Regions from separate parts of the Homo sapiens genome. Here regions 1, 2, 3 and 4 are each linked to region 5. The links are contacts of gene promoters, found by promoter capture Hi-C in blood cells and fetal thymus (Javierre and others, 2016). All regions are on one chromosome and are shown on one strand. The core of a region is centred on a gene start or on the middle of the fragment in contact, and the rest is flanking DNA. Distances in the headings are between cores, read along the strand shown. Region 1 overlaps PTPRJ (protein tyrosine phosphatase receptor type J). Region 2 overlaps CSTPP1 (centriolar satellite-associated tubulin polyglutamylase complex regulator 1). Region 3 overlaps CKAP5 (cytoskeleton associated protein 5). Region 4 holds the start of LRP4 (LDL receptor related protein 4). Region 5 holds the start of KBTBD4 (kelch repeat and BTB domain containing 4).

Region 1 (2,781 bases), core at 104-2,603, 540 kb after region 5:
AGGTAGAAAGCTTATTTAAAGAAATAGTAGCAGAAAACTCTCCAAACCTGGAGAAAGATATAAATATCCAGGTACAGGAAGGACAAATGACTCCAATCAGAGTCAATTCAAACAAGACTACTCCAGAACATAATCACACTGTCAAACATCACAGACAATGGGGATTTGGAAAGCAAAAAGAGAAAAGAAGCAAATAACATGTAAGGGAGCTCCACTTCAGCTAGCAGCAGACTTCTCAGCAGAAACTTACAGGCCAGGAGAGAGTGGGATGATATATTCACCATGCTGAGGGAAAACAACCTGCCAACCAAGATTGCTATACCCAGCAGAACTGGCCATCAAAAATGAAGGCAAGATAAAAGACTTTACCAGAGAAACAAAAGCTGAGGGAGTTCATCACCACTAGACATGTCTTATAAGAAATGCTAAAGAGAGTTTTTAAGCTGAAAGAAAAGGACACTAGTGATTAATTGAAAACATATGAAAGGATAAGACTAGTAAAATAAATACACAGTCAAATTCAGAATACATGAATACTGTAATGGTCATACATATCTTTAATATGAAAGTTAAAAGATAATACTTAAAAAATAATAACTACAATAACTTGCAGGGGGGATATGCAATATAAAAAGATGTAAATGGTGACATAAACAATTCATAATATGAGTGGGGAATGGACTAGAAGTGTAGAGGTCAATTTGTGTGTGTGATCAAAGTTGTCATCAGCATAAAATAACCTGTTATAACTATAAGATTCTTTTTATAAGCCTCATGGTAACCACAAAGAAGAACCTTTAGTAGATACACAAAAAATAAAAAGCAAGGAATCAAAACATACTACTAGAGAATATCACTTAACCTCAAAGGAAGATAGTAAGAGAGGACGGAAGGAACAAAGAGTCTATAAAACAACCAAATGGCAGTAGTAAGTTCTTACCTATCAATAATAACCTTGAAAGTAAAGGGTTTAAATTCTCCAATCAAAAGACATAGAGTGCGTGAATGGGTTAAAAAAAAAAACCGATCTCAATAGTATGCTGTCTACAAGAGACTCACCTCACCTGCAAGGACATGCCTAGACTGAAAGTGAAGGGATGGAAAAAGATACTCCATGCTAATGGAAATCTAAAGAGTGGCAGGAGTAGCTATACTTATGTCAGATAAAATAGACTTTAAGTTCAAAACTTTTAATGGAGACAACAAACATCATTTTATAATGATAAAGGGATCAATTCATCAAGAGGTCTTAACAATTATAAATATATATGCACCCAGCATTGGAATGCCTAAATATATAAAGCAAATATTAATGGATCTGAATGGACAGATTGACTGCAATGCATTCATAGTAGAGGACTTCCACCACCTTACTTCCAGCAATGGACAATGATCCAGACAGGAAATCAATAAGGAAGCATCAGACTTAAACTACAGTTTAGACCAAATGGATGTATCAGACATATACAGAACATTCCATCCAACAGCTGTAGAATACACACTTTTCAACTGCACCTGGAACATTCTCCAGGTAGATCATATGTTAGACCACAAAACAAGTGTTAACAGATTTAAGAAGTGTGAAATCATATCAAGTATCTTTTCTGATGATGGCATCAAACTAGAAATAAATAACAGGAGGAACTTAAGAAAATTCACAGATATATGGAAATTAAACAACATGCTCCTGAATAACTAATGGGTTGATGATGAAATTAAAAGGGAAACTAAAAAATATCTTGAGACAAACATCACTTCTTAAGCAATTTTGTTAACATATTTCTTTTTCTTCTTTAAAATGGTGCCATAACCTCCTTCATGAAATTGCTGTGAGACATAAATTAGAAAATGCTTGTACAGCCCCTGGTATAGGATCTGTCCCCAGGTCACTTACAGCAGGTCCCCAGCAGGGGTCATGCTGATCTTGCCATCTCCCACAGTAACTATTGTTAATTGTTTTGTCACAAATGCCCCTGAACAATCAATGGGTCAGTGAAGAAATTAAAAGGGACATTTAAAAATTTCTTGAAGCAAATGAAAATGGAAACACAATATACTAAAGCCTATGGGATACACCAAAAGCAGCCCTTCCAAGAAAGTTGACAGCAATAAACTCCTACATCAAAAAAGAAAGCTCCCTGGGCACAGTGGCTCGTGCCTGTAATCCCAGAACTTTGGGAGGCCGAGATGGGCGGATCACTTGAGGTCAGGAGTTCGAGACCAGCCTGGCCAACATGGTGAAACCCCGTCTCTACTAAAAATACAAAAATTAGCTGGGTGTAGTGACACACACCTGTAATCCCAGCTACTAGGAAGGCTGAGGCAGGAGAATTGCTTGAACCCAGAGGGCAGAGATTGCAGTGAGCCGAGATCGCACCACTGCACTCCAGCCTGGGCAACAGAGCAAGATTCTGTCTCAAAAAAAAAAAAAAAAAAAAAAAAAAAAAAAAAAAGCAAGCTCATACCTCCAGCCTGGGTTTTGAGAGCCTGTCTGAAAAAAACAAAACAAAACCCTCAAGTAAATAACCTAATGTAGCACGTTAAGGAACTAGAAAAATAAGAACAAACTAATCTTCAAATTAGTAAAAGGAACAAAATAATAAAGGTCAAAGCTGAAATAAATGAAATAGGCACTAGAAAAACAATAGAAAAGATCAATAAACTAAGTTGTTTTTTTGAAAACAAAGAACATTGACAAAGCTTTAGCTAGACTAAGAAAAAAGAGACGCTACTCAAATAAGAAAATCAGAAATGAGACATTATAAACTGATACCACAGAAA
Region 2 (2,846 bases), core at 250-2,749, 640 kb before region 5:
AATTTCTCAGTCAGTAGGGAGCTTCTTCGTTCTTCATGAAATTCATTTTTAGCTATATAGTATTTAAATAATTTATTTAACCAGTCCCGCACTGGTAAACAAGTTGTTTTTAGCCTTTTGCTGTTACTAAGAATGCTGCAATGAATAACCTGCAGTTTTGTTCCTTTGCAAGTGTATCTGCAAGAATAAGTTCCACAAAGTGGAATTGGTGGATTAAGGGCATATGCATTGAAGTACTTATAGATATTGTCAGATTGCCCTTAATAGGTGTTGTACCATTTTGCCACCAGCAATGAAAGAGAATGCCTGTTTCCCCATTGTGCTGACAACAAAATACATCAAACTTGGATTTTTTTCAATCTAAGTGACAGATAGTCTGAGTAGATTTAATATGCATTTTTAAATGAAGTTGAGTGCCTTTTTACCAAGTTTAAGGGCTGATTGGTCTTTGAAAGCTATATATATACACATATATACATGAACATATATATAGACATATATATAGAGAGAGAGCTTAAGACAGTGACCACATCCATTAATCAGCTAAAAGGGGATATCACAGACAATTTTGTATCTAATGAATAACAGTATCAATGTCAAGCAATGCCTAGACTTTTTTCCAAAGATTTTATGTATTTTATTACCCAGTACTCAATGAATATATGAAATATTTGAAAAGGCTAGTTCATTGTTCAGTTCCTTGGGTGTTTGCTGTTTGAATTTTATGTCTCAAAGGCTTGGCAGATTTGGTGTATTGGTGCCTTGGTGAATAGAAGTTGGTGGTCTCTTCATAAATGGCGTTTTCAGGAAGGCCAATTCAGTGGCAGTGTTGAGAATGAATCTACAAACAGAATCAGAGTCTCAGGTTGGTTGAAAAAGCTTCAATGTTTGTGAAGCCCAACCAATCACCTAATAATTGAATCCTATACAAATGCTTCTTCATGCTTTGTTGCATATTTAAGTGTCTTAATTCCTTGTCCTAACCACTAACTAGACATTCATACTGCCCTCAGCATGGTCACACCCCTCACTGCCTTCTCCTGGTTCATCAAACCGTATCACTCTGCTGAAATGCGTTTGTCTTTAGTTGAGAACTATCCCTGCCTTTTACAATTTGTCTCTCTTAGAGGCATGCTGCTTTGACCTATTCACCCTCAATTTTTTTTTTCTTTTTTCTTGAGACGGAGTCTCGCTCTGTCACCCAGGCTGGAGTGCAATGATGTGATCTTGGCTCACTCCAACCTCCGCCTCCAGGGTTCAAGTGATTCTCGTGTCTCAGCCTCCCAAGTAGCTGGGATTACAGGCACCTGCCACCATGCCCAGCTAATTTTTGTATTTTTAGTAGAGACAGAGTTTCACCATGTTTGCCAGGCTGGTCTCGAACTCCTGACCTCAGGTGATCCACCCACCTTAGCCTCCCAAAGTGCTGGGATTACAGGTGTGAGCCACCACGCCTGGCCAACCTATTCACCCTCAATCTAATGACCGTTTAAAACCACTCCCTACAGAATAGATTAATAAAATATTTCCTGATTTAAATTTTTAAATACCTGTGATTTTTCCATTTGTTTTTATTTTTATACATTATAAAGTTACTTGTATGTGTAAGCCTAAAGAAGACTATACTTATAGAGAAAACAAAACTGCAGACTGGAAAGCCCTAGGCATTCAGTGAAACCCAAAAGCTAAAGTTGAGTTCCCCTTGGTTAGTGTATCTGGAGACCTCTCTTTAGGATTATGGTGTAAATTACAGGGATACCTATCCAAAGAATATCTAGAGATATCCCTTTCTCCCTGCTAGCTAGGGATTGTATTTACCTTTCTGACTATTAGTGAAGAAATCAATCTTTTATCATGTTGGGTAAACTGATCCTTTCCCCACTGACTTTGTAGATTAGGAACCTGTAATCATGGCCTTGCATGGCTTAAGATCTTAAGATCATCACTAAAGAATAGCTTAGTGATGTTCATGTCTGCAGTCATCAGAATGTAGTGATAAAAATTGTGTTAATGCCTAGGCCTGAAGAGAGAAAGGAGAGTCTGGTAAGGAGATGAAATAAGTATAGACCCTCTCTGTAGGACCCGCAAAAGGTTTCCAGCCTTATGAAACCTACTTAGTGGAAGCTTCTGCCAGAGGCTGAAGGTGTGTCTGTGTATCTGGTTGGGTGTGGCGAGCTCTCTAGAGCCAAAGGGCAGCCTGTTCTGGTCCCAGGTTTGCCAAACATACCACCTACGTGCTGACCTGAGTATAAGCATGAGGGCGTGAGGTTTATTTTTTACTCCACCTAATTTGGTGAGGTGCATGCTTTCACTCACGCTCCAAGTTGCCTCTTCTTTTCCATGGAACCTGCTTATTCTCACTACGGTTGATAGTGGGTTAGTATAATAGATAACTCTAGAAATCAAAGATGGCCTTTCTCCTTTGGGGACTAGACATTTAGAAGAATCACAATAAATTGGGTAGTTTTTTTTTTAAGCTATAGTTTTTGAACTCTTCCTATATGCCTGGCACTGTGGTTTATCTCATTTAATTTTCACAACTACCATATGAAGTGGGTACTCTTACTGGTCCCAATTAGTAGTTATTAATATCATCTTCTCATTTTATAAATAAGGAAGCTGAGGCTTAGAAAGGCTAATTGATTTGCACAAGGTCACACAGGCAATGATGCATAGTAAACAGGGGTTCATACCCAGGTTTGTCATATTCCACAGCTTGTGTTTTTTCCTCTTCACTAAAAAGATAAAAACAAACCAAAAAACCCCTATTGGTTCAAAGGGCAGTAATTCTTGCTTCCTTATTAAGGATGAGGCTCTTGCAAATAAATTTCTTGGGAACAAGAATT
Region 3 (2,700 bases), core at 39-2,538, 750 kb before region 5:
TTCCTAAGAGATGTTCACTGTCAACATATCCAAAAGGGGTACGGGATACCACCAACACAGGCCTCTGGAGAGACAGCTAAACCTGGCTGTGAATTAGGACAACTTGGAGTTACTGCTCGACTGTACCAAGGTAGCTGAAAACCTAATGCTTACTCATCCCAAAGCTACCAAGGTCTTCAAATACCAGGGTAAGGATCCAAGGCCCAGAGAGAGAGATTCAGCTCCACCCATTCAGCTCAAATGGGTTATACTCTGGTAAAAGCAACCCTCTCCTCACCCCAAGTAAGAACCAGGTGGGGGCAAAGCCAGGTCGTGGGCACTGCTCACCCACTGCATGCCCAAACAAGCACCCTACGGCTGCTGTCACCACCCAGAAGTAGAGCAGATACCCTGGCTTTAGCTCACTGGAGCCGGCATTGTTTACGCTCTTTCGCCGCCTTAGCCTCTGATAGGCCAGCAAAGTCCCCAGTACTGTCCACCAGGACTTGCAGCACGGTCGCGGGATGCTTGCCCTTTGCCCGTGGTTTGACACTTACGCTCCCCGGGCAGGGAGAGGTCAGGGAAGCTAAGGTCCGAGCAGGATCAGCAGGAATACCCGGCAGGCGGCGGCGGCGGCGGCAGCAGCATTGGTGCTGCGGTCCGCTGGGAAACGCCTCCTCCGAGGGCGGGGCCCGGAGCGCCACTGTCAGAGTGCCCGCCCCACCCTCAGCTCCCCTCTCCGCACACTCTGAAAGCTTAAAGGGGCCGCAGTGTATCTTCGCCCAGAGGTTTGCAGGCCTCAGGCGCTGCTTCTAGGTCCTAGGCTTTCCCAGGCAAGAGGCAAATGATGGACCAACTAGGAAGACTACTGCAGTTGGGTGGACCTCTTTTTTTGGTAGTATTACACGTAATATTCCAGAAACAAAGGAGATGACCAGTTCCCACTATCACAATCCTAATCCCTCCTCCAAGGGTGAAAAAAATTACTGCAGGTAACAGCCAAAGCATCAAGGTAGATACATAGCCCCTCATTATATGTAAGCTGCTTACTTCATTAACCTCCTTTGGACTCGAGCAGTTCTTCAAATGGCAACTCAAAGGCCTGGAAAAGATCCTACAATGCTCCACCTCACCTTTTCACGGAATTCGTTCTTTACAAAACTGGAGGAATCCTGGACAATGATACAAGATGGGCAGGAAGGTAATAGAAGGTGAAATAGAAAAATACCAGCCTGGGCAACAAAGTGAGACCCCATCTCTACAAAAAATAAAAAATTAGCTGGGCATGGTGGTACAAGACTAGTCCCAGCTACTCCGGAGGCTGAGGTGGGAGGATCCTGAGCCCAGGACTAGGCTGCAGTGAGCCAGACTGCACCACAGCACTCCACCCTGAACAACTAACCAAAACCATACCTCTATAAAAGAAAAAAAGAAAAATAACCTTCCCCATCTTGTGTGTAAAATGTGATCTTTCAAAAATTGACCTAAAAGTCAACGTAAATAAATGTACAAGTCTATGTAAGTAATCTTGCATGCCAATACAATTGTAATGTGCAATCATCTAATTTAATATGAAGAGTTCTTAAGAAAATTGTAGTAGAAACGGCATTAATATTTCAAGGAGTTAAGTCCTAGTCTCTGAGATCTCCAAAGGTTAGCAACTAGTTTTAATTTTCTTTTTGTAGGAGGAGTTTGTCCTGAATCCTAGTTTACAAGGTTTGACTGCATTTTGTGTCTCCCATCATACCAACAGGAAAGATATGTGCTTTTTTTAAGTCCATATTACTCCACCTAATTTAGATGAATCAACACACCTCCTTAAAGCCTTGGGCCATCATCAGATCAGTACAGGAATCAATGTAGTAAGCTTAAAGACCATTTGTAAGTAACCCAATTTCTCCTATCCACAACAGGAATAAAGCAGAAATTTAAGAATCCAAAGAACAGTTATGAAGATTGCTCCACCAGGGAGCAGACTCAGGTTACTCTTATTCTGAAGGTTTTAGAGAACCCTAAGCTAAAGTTGCCAAGTATCTTTTCCTTACTTGGGTGGGGGCGGGGTAGATAAATAAATAAAGTTGCCAAGTAAAAAATGGATTCAGATTAAAACAGTCTGATTTTTGAACTGCCAAGACAGTCTCATTCTACAATGCATTTAACTGTAAAGAATACCTCTGAATTAGGTAATTAAGACCTTCATTCATTATATTCCCATCAAGCTTAACTGTTCTGAGGGTAATGGTTTGCAGATCAGCCTTTCTCATCAGATTGTGAGTTCCTCAAGGGCAAGGGCTGGAATGTATCTTAATTATCTTTTTCTTCCAATGTGTGATACAAAATAAGTACCCAACAAATATTTATCACAAGAGGTATGACCAACATTTTCTGTTACATAGCATTCTAGTGACATAGGACTTCAGTTAACTGCAATAAACATAGTACAATGAGTGTATGTGTGTATGCACACACAAATGGATAATACCCTGTGCTGTGCTTATGAGCGAATTAAACATTTTAAAAATTAGAGAAAAAAATCTACTAACAGTCACAAAAAAAGTCAAATACTGTATGAACCCACTTTTATGAGGTATGCAGTCAAATTCATGAATTCATAGAACCAGAAAGTAGAATGGTAGTAACCAAAGATGGGGTGGGGGTGTGGCTTGGGAGGGGGATAAGAGAAATATTTAGATACAGAGTTTCAGATTAGCAAGATGAGAA
Region 4 (2,700 bases), core at 138-2,637, 660 kb before region 5:
GGAAATCTGCACTGACTTTTTCCACACGAGCTGTCCTACGTGAAAGAAAGAACCGGTAAAAGACCAGGCAGGGTCTCCAGACCCCTCCATTCTGAGCCCCAGCTCCCTTCATCGGGGCTGCGAGGCAAATGGGGAGACTCGGAACTCCCGCCACGATGAATAGCGATGGGTGAATAGGGCTGGGGTTCAAAGATCAAAGTTCTTTGATCTCTGGGCACAAACTAGGGAAAGCTGCTCAATCACGGGGTGCACCCAGGGTCGTTAAGAGCCCGCGGAGAAGCAGATTCCATCGGAGCCCTAGTCCCACACAACAGGGGGTACGGGCACCAAGGAGTCCTGCTGCAGCCGTCCAGCTCCCCCGAGGGCTGGGACCCTGCCGCGAGGGCCCGGCGGCTGCCTTCTGGGGTTCAGGGTTACCGGCCCCCTGCCCCCCTACCCCAGCCAGGGCAGATCTGCGGGAGCCTTCCAGCAGTTTCTTCCCTATATTCCTCCTCAGCCCCCTTTCCAACCACCTCCCTTTAGGACGATCCAGGGCTGGAAGCTGACTGGCCGCAGCCAAGAGAGGGACCCCGAAACACCGCCGAGGGGAGATGCTGCCCGCAAACAGTGCCCCAGAGCCCCTTGGTGGGAGCAAGACCTGGAGTCCGGGAATCGTTCTCCGAGTAGAGGAATCCCGGTGCCCAAGTACCAGATTCTACCGGGGCCTCTCTCCGCAACCCGCCCGAGCCCCCAGCCCCAGGAAGGAGGGCTATTTACAATTTATGGGTTTAGCGACCCTCCTCACCCGCCTCCCTTTCTTCGCACGCATTCATTCGCACCAAGGACACAGAGCCCCCGACCTAACCTGAAAGGGAAGCAGCCCCCGCTCTTGAAAGAGCAGCGAGGGAGGGCGAGCGAACGAACGCCCCGGACCTTACCCGCGCCCCGGCCCAGACCCGCGCCCCGGCCCAGACCCGAACCCGCGGAAGCGCCTCCGCTGATGCCCCCGCTCGGACTGCTGGAGCCGGGGCCGCTCCGGGTCCTCTCCCCTGCACGCAGCCCCAGGGCCACGGCTAGGAGCGAGGGCGAGGGGTCTCAGGCCCCGGCCCGCGCCGTCCAGGTCCCGGGAGGCGAGTCCTGCAGCGGCCGGACCCAGGGACAAACTTTCCCGGCGGGCGCCGCTTACCGTGTGCGCAGAGCAGGGCGCCAAGCAGCAGCGCGCCCCACTGCCGCCTCATGGTGCCGCCCGCGCCGCTCGCCCGGGGTCCCGCCGGCTCCCGCCGGACGGCGCGGCGGAGAAGCCCGCGGAGGGTCCCCGAGGGGGAAGCGTCCCGGGTGCACGGCGGCCTGCGCGCCCCGCAAGTCGCCCTCGGGCCGCCGCCGCCTCCAGTGCTGCCAGAGCCGACGCTGCCCCGCCAGGGGACCGGGAGGGGGTGTCCCGGGCCCGACCGCCCCGCCCCCCGCGCCGCAGCCCCGGCCACCGCCACCGCGCCTGGGCCCGCCCCCAGCGCCGGCCCGGCCCCTTCCCGCCCTCGGCCCCGGCTCCCTGGTCCCCCGACCCCACCCGCCGGCGCCTCCTGCGCGGGGCCCCGCTCCTCCTCAGGCCGCCCCCACATTCCTGGCCCGAGAGAGAGCCCCCTCCCTGTCGCTATTACTACTGCTTAAATTTCCCTAACTTAAAAAAAAAAAATTATCCTAGCAGCAAGTCTCGCCCCCGCTCACTCCAGCTCTATGCTTCAGACGAGCACCTGAGCTGACCCAAGTCGCCTGGACGTGACCCTGCCCCCGCCTACCGGCCCCAAGTCCAGACTTTTTTGATGTCTGCGAATACGCAAGGCTTGTGGATGCATAATCCTCTTGGGTCTTTATTGACATCAAACAAGGGACATCAGGGGGCCTGGAGTGCTGTATCTTAACTGGCGTTCTCACTGTCAAAATTCCTTTTCGGAGATTTTCTTCTCCCTGGCCTCCCCCGGTCTAGGCAGCGTTGTTCTAGGGCTAAATAATTCACCGACCCCCCCGCCCCTTTTCATTCACTCATTTCCTGAGATGGTTGTCTGGGTCCTGTTGCTCCAGCTCAGAGGCCCAGATTCGGCCCATACAGACTTAGTTCCTCCTTGCTGTCTTTGTAAATCACTGTTGTTAGCCTCTTCACCTTCTTTGACTTTCTGATCCTGACAAGGAAGGGAGGGGGTCAGGAAAGGAGTCCTCATGGGCAGCTGCACTCCCACAAAGCCCTCAGCCTCCTTCCAGCCCCAGTCTGTAGGTCCTTCCCTCAGATTTAACTTTTGATTTACTGCATAAAATCATAAACTTGTCTCTAGTCTTCCTTCCTTTTGTGGTCTACTCTCCCTAATGCATATTAATAATACGGATTAATTTCACCACCTTCCATTTTTCCAGGTTGAATCTTGTTTTGTTCCTTTTGCCCAAATGCCCAACTTTCTGATGGCCCAGTATATCGCTTTTTTCCCTCCCAGCTGATATGCCAGCATTTCTTGGGCTTGGATCATCTATGGATTTCATTAACTCACTTTCCTCACCAGTAAATAGAGTCAGGAAGACCCAAATGCCCCCTGTTAGCTGAGGGGAAAGTAATTTGGCATAGTGCAAAGTGGTTATTAGATTTCTCTAAATGGATACATTGACATTTCATCCTTGCTTGTTTTTTTCAGTACTTTCACTTCAAATTACCATCTTTTACCAAAGCTAACATGAACC
Region 5 (2,700 bases), core at 1-2,500:
ACTCGCTGACATCCTGCAGCACAATCACCCGGTTGTGGGCCTCCTTCAGGTTGGAAGTGAACATGGATCGGAAGAAGCAGCTCTGAGCTGAGAGGACCAGCCGATGGAGCTGAAACTCCCGGCCTTCCACCGAAATGGTGACATCAGCAAAGAGCTCCTCCTCTAGACACAGTTTCATGATGCCTTGAGCCACACGGCCTGAATGTGACCGATCTTTGAAAGTGTAGTTCACAAAGTAGTTCTCATCCATGGATGCTCCAGGCTCCTCTGGTGATTCCATGCTAGCCAACTTCTCTCTCTGCCAGCTGTCTGCAAAGCAACACCATCTTGAGTAACCTGAGGAATTCACAGCCATAGTCTGTGAATCCAACTGTCCAACTCAGGGAGGGAAAAGGAAGAAGTGAGAGCAAAGTGGGTCCAGATTGGCCTTAGTCCTGGCCCTGTCCATGATGTCCCTGACGCTATCCTTTAACCAAATCTGGGTTCGTTATCCCCAGTGGCGCCCCTCCGCTAATGATATAAATAAAAGTTCCAACTCTGGGTGTTTTCCTGAGAAAACACGGAATAATTCCTTTCCATAATGTTAACAAAAGACTTGGGATTTAGGTCAATATATGAAAGCAAAGGGCTGGGAGAGGCCTGTGATCGTAAAAGCCTTACTAACCAAATAACTGGGGCATAAAACTAGTGAAGCTCAGGGGCAGTAGAATCAGACAAAAAGGACCCCTGGCCCCGGCCTAGTGGCCAGGTCCTCTCCTTCCCAGCGCATGGAGTTAAGACGCTCCATATGAAGCCTAGCCTGGGATATCCGTGGGTCTTACATTTGCTCTCTTCTGAGCTGCTTCCCCCACACTTCCCCGCTCGCTCGAAAGACTCCCTATGGCTGCGTCCCAGAACTTGAGTCCATCCGCCCCCAGGCCGGGGCACTGGGAGGCCCATCACCCTGTGCAATGTCCCCGCTCCACCTTGAGTCGTCTTGGAAACGGTCGCCAGGGAAACCGTTCTTCCCGCTCAGGCCCGCCCGCCCTCGTCAAAAGCTTGGCTCAGAGAGCGGGGGAGGGGTGTGTAGCGTAGAACCCAAAACGCCCGCCCCCTCCCCTCCTCTCACCCGCCTGGTTCTTCAGCGTCCTCGCCTTCTCTCTAGGCTCTGCCACAAGGAGCTAGGACCACGCTCACCTCACGATTTCCCTACCTGCCTGTCTCGCTTTCTCACCTGCGTTCCCTCCTTTCATCCCGGAGCCCGGAACCTCCGCTTCCGGCTCCACGTCCGCCCGGAAGAAGATCTGCTGCACACTTCCGTTTCCGGTCCGTGCCCTTGGGGCTCCGTGTCCTGCTGTCTTTCCGTCCGCTGCCTAGTCTGCATCTGAGTAACATGGCGGCGGCGGCGGTAGCCAGGCTGTGGTGGCGCGGGATCTTGGGGGCCTCGGCGCTGACCAGGGGTGAGCACGGGCAGCCAGCTGAGACCGGGGTCAGGCGCAGCGGCGTGCCCAGTGCAGAGAGCTCCTCAGGGCTCATCCCGCGCGTCTGTGCCTTTTATCTCCCTGTGCAGGGACTGGGCGACCCTCCGTTCTGTTGCTGCCGGTGAGGCGGGAGAGCGCCGGGGCCGACACGCGCCGTGAGTATGTGCGGGCAGCGCTCTTCTCTGAACTATCGGCGGGGCCCCTTAGATGCCTGTCCTTGCCCTAGGATGCCCTTCCCTACGTCCTCCTGGCAAATCTTGGAGATCTGACTTGCAGTGGTCTTCACCCTGCATGCAGAATCGAGCCCTCCCTGTGCCCTTAGGCCTGTTATGGCCCTGATTGTTCCTTGTCCATTTCAATCATCCCCTTTTTGTCTGATTAAACTGTCAGCTCTTTGAAAGCAAGCAATATAACCTTTAGGCCTCAGAGCCCTGTAATAATAGTACCTAGCGTTAATTGAGTGCTTAATGTGTGCCTGGAACCTCGCTAAGCGTTTTAGTGAATGATCTTATTTCGTCCTCACAACAGCCTTATGGGGTAGATAGCATCTTACTCTTCTTACTATAGATCAGGAAACAGTCCAAAGAATTAAACTGCCCAGGGTCAAAGACCTAGTGAATGACAAAGTAGGCCTGCCTGCTGCCAGAGGCAGAAACACCTAACCATTATTCTGTAGCTTGTGATGTGTGATTGCTCAGTGGTTTAGGGTTGCATGAATGAGTATGTACATATTATGTTACAGTCAAGATACACGGACTGGGAGTTAGGAGACCTGGCATTTCTCCTTTCCTGGGTTTTCTCATTGACACACACACACACACACACACACACACACACACACACACACACACCTGGGCCTCAGTTTTCTCATTGACACACACACACACACACACTTTTAAGGAGAGAGAGAGTCTGTGAGGGATCTTCAAGCCCTGAAGTTCTTAGCTTGAGAACCTGGTATAAACTTGCGTGCTAAGGAGCTACAGAGAGGCAAAAGTTCAGTTCCCATCCTCAAACAGCTCTTAGTCTGACAGGAGAACTGAGACTACTGCTTTAGCAGAAATGCAGGCAATGTGAGGGAAGAACTGTGGAGTAATTTTGAGAAGAGGTGAACACCCCAGCTGCTATAGTAAGAGTCTTTCTGAGGACCGTGTAGTTAAGGTGGCACTTTCCCCAAGTTTTCATCACTGTATTCCCTAGAAGGGAAACCTTTCACATGCACCTTTCTCAAGGTGCTTCA

What was found. The method cuts DNA at HindIII sites, captures the fragments that hold promoters and counts their contacts. A CHiCAGO score of 5 or more calls a contact.
Region 1: a contact is called between a fragment that was not itself captured here and the fragment with the promoter of KBTBD4 in region 5, in 1 of 17 cell types (naive B cells). The highest score is 6.4, in naive B cells.
Region 2: a contact is called between a fragment that was not itself captured here and the fragment with the promoter of KBTBD4 in region 5, in 2 of 17 cell types (non-activated CD4 T cells and fetal thymus). The highest score is 5.7, in non-activated CD4 T cells.
Region 3: a fragment that was not itself captured here is called in contact with the fragment with the promoter of KBTBD4 in region 5 in 2 of 17 cell types (fetal thymus and erythroblasts); the score reaches 6.9 in fetal thymus.
Region 4: the fragment with the promoter of LRP4 here is called in contact with the fragment with the promoter of KBTBD4 in region 5 in 1 of 17 cell types (naive CD8 T cells); the score reaches 5.5 in naive CD8 T cells.

The regions. Positions count from the first base shown.
Region 1 is chr11:48,115,123-48,117,903 of GRCh38, forward strand. The region is part of intron 3 of PTPRJ (protein tyrosine phosphatase receptor type J); the gene reads left to right. Among named protein-coding and RNA genes, the nearest start is that of MIR3161, 20 kb to the left of the region's middle. The HindIII fragment of the contact is 2,690 bases long and covers 9-2,698 here.
Region 2 is chr11:46,940,180-46,943,025 of GRCh38, forward strand. The region is part of intron 1 of CSTPP1 (centriolar satellite-associated tubulin polyglutamylase complex regulator 1); the gene reads left to right. Among named protein-coding and RNA genes, the nearest start is that of CSTPP1, 4.8 kb to the left of the region's middle. The HindIII fragment of the contact is 1,245 bases long and covers 878-2,122 here.
Region 3 is chr11:46,826,226-46,828,925 of GRCh38, forward strand. The region is part of intron 1 of CKAP5 (cytoskeleton associated protein 5); the gene reads right to left. Among named protein-coding and RNA genes, the nearest start is that of CKAP5, 19 kb to the right of the region's middle. RefSeq lists enhancers at 1-512, 513-1,063. The HindIII fragment of the contact is 1,112 bases long and covers 733-1,844 here.
Region 4 is chr11:46,917,163-46,919,862 of GRCh38, forward strand. LRP4 (LDL receptor related protein 4) reads right to left here and starts at 1,388. Exons shown (of 38, transcript NM_002334.4): 1 at 1,166-1,388. The coding sequence starts at 1,217. RefSeq lists enhancers at 1-449, 1,613-2,117 and silencers at 953-1,122, 1,133-1,312, 1,323-1,552. The HindIII fragment of the contact is 10,743 bases long and covers 1-2,700 here.
Region 5 is chr11:47,577,720-47,580,419 of GRCh38, forward strand. It overlaps KBTBD4 (kelch repeat and BTB domain containing 4), which reads right to left and starts at 1,251. Exons shown (of 4, transcript NM_018095.6): 1 at 1,214-1,251; 2 at 1-309. The coding sequence starts at 1,232. It overlaps NDUFS3 (NADH:ubiquinone oxidoreductase core subunit S3), which reads left to right and starts at 1,355. Exons shown (of 7, transcript NM_004551.3): 1 at 1,355-1,439; 2 at 1,550-1,615. The coding sequence starts at 1,373. RefSeq lists enhancers at 810-1,469, 1,162-1,401, 1,470-2,128. The HindIII fragment of the contact is 1,977 bases long and covers 1,036-2,700 here.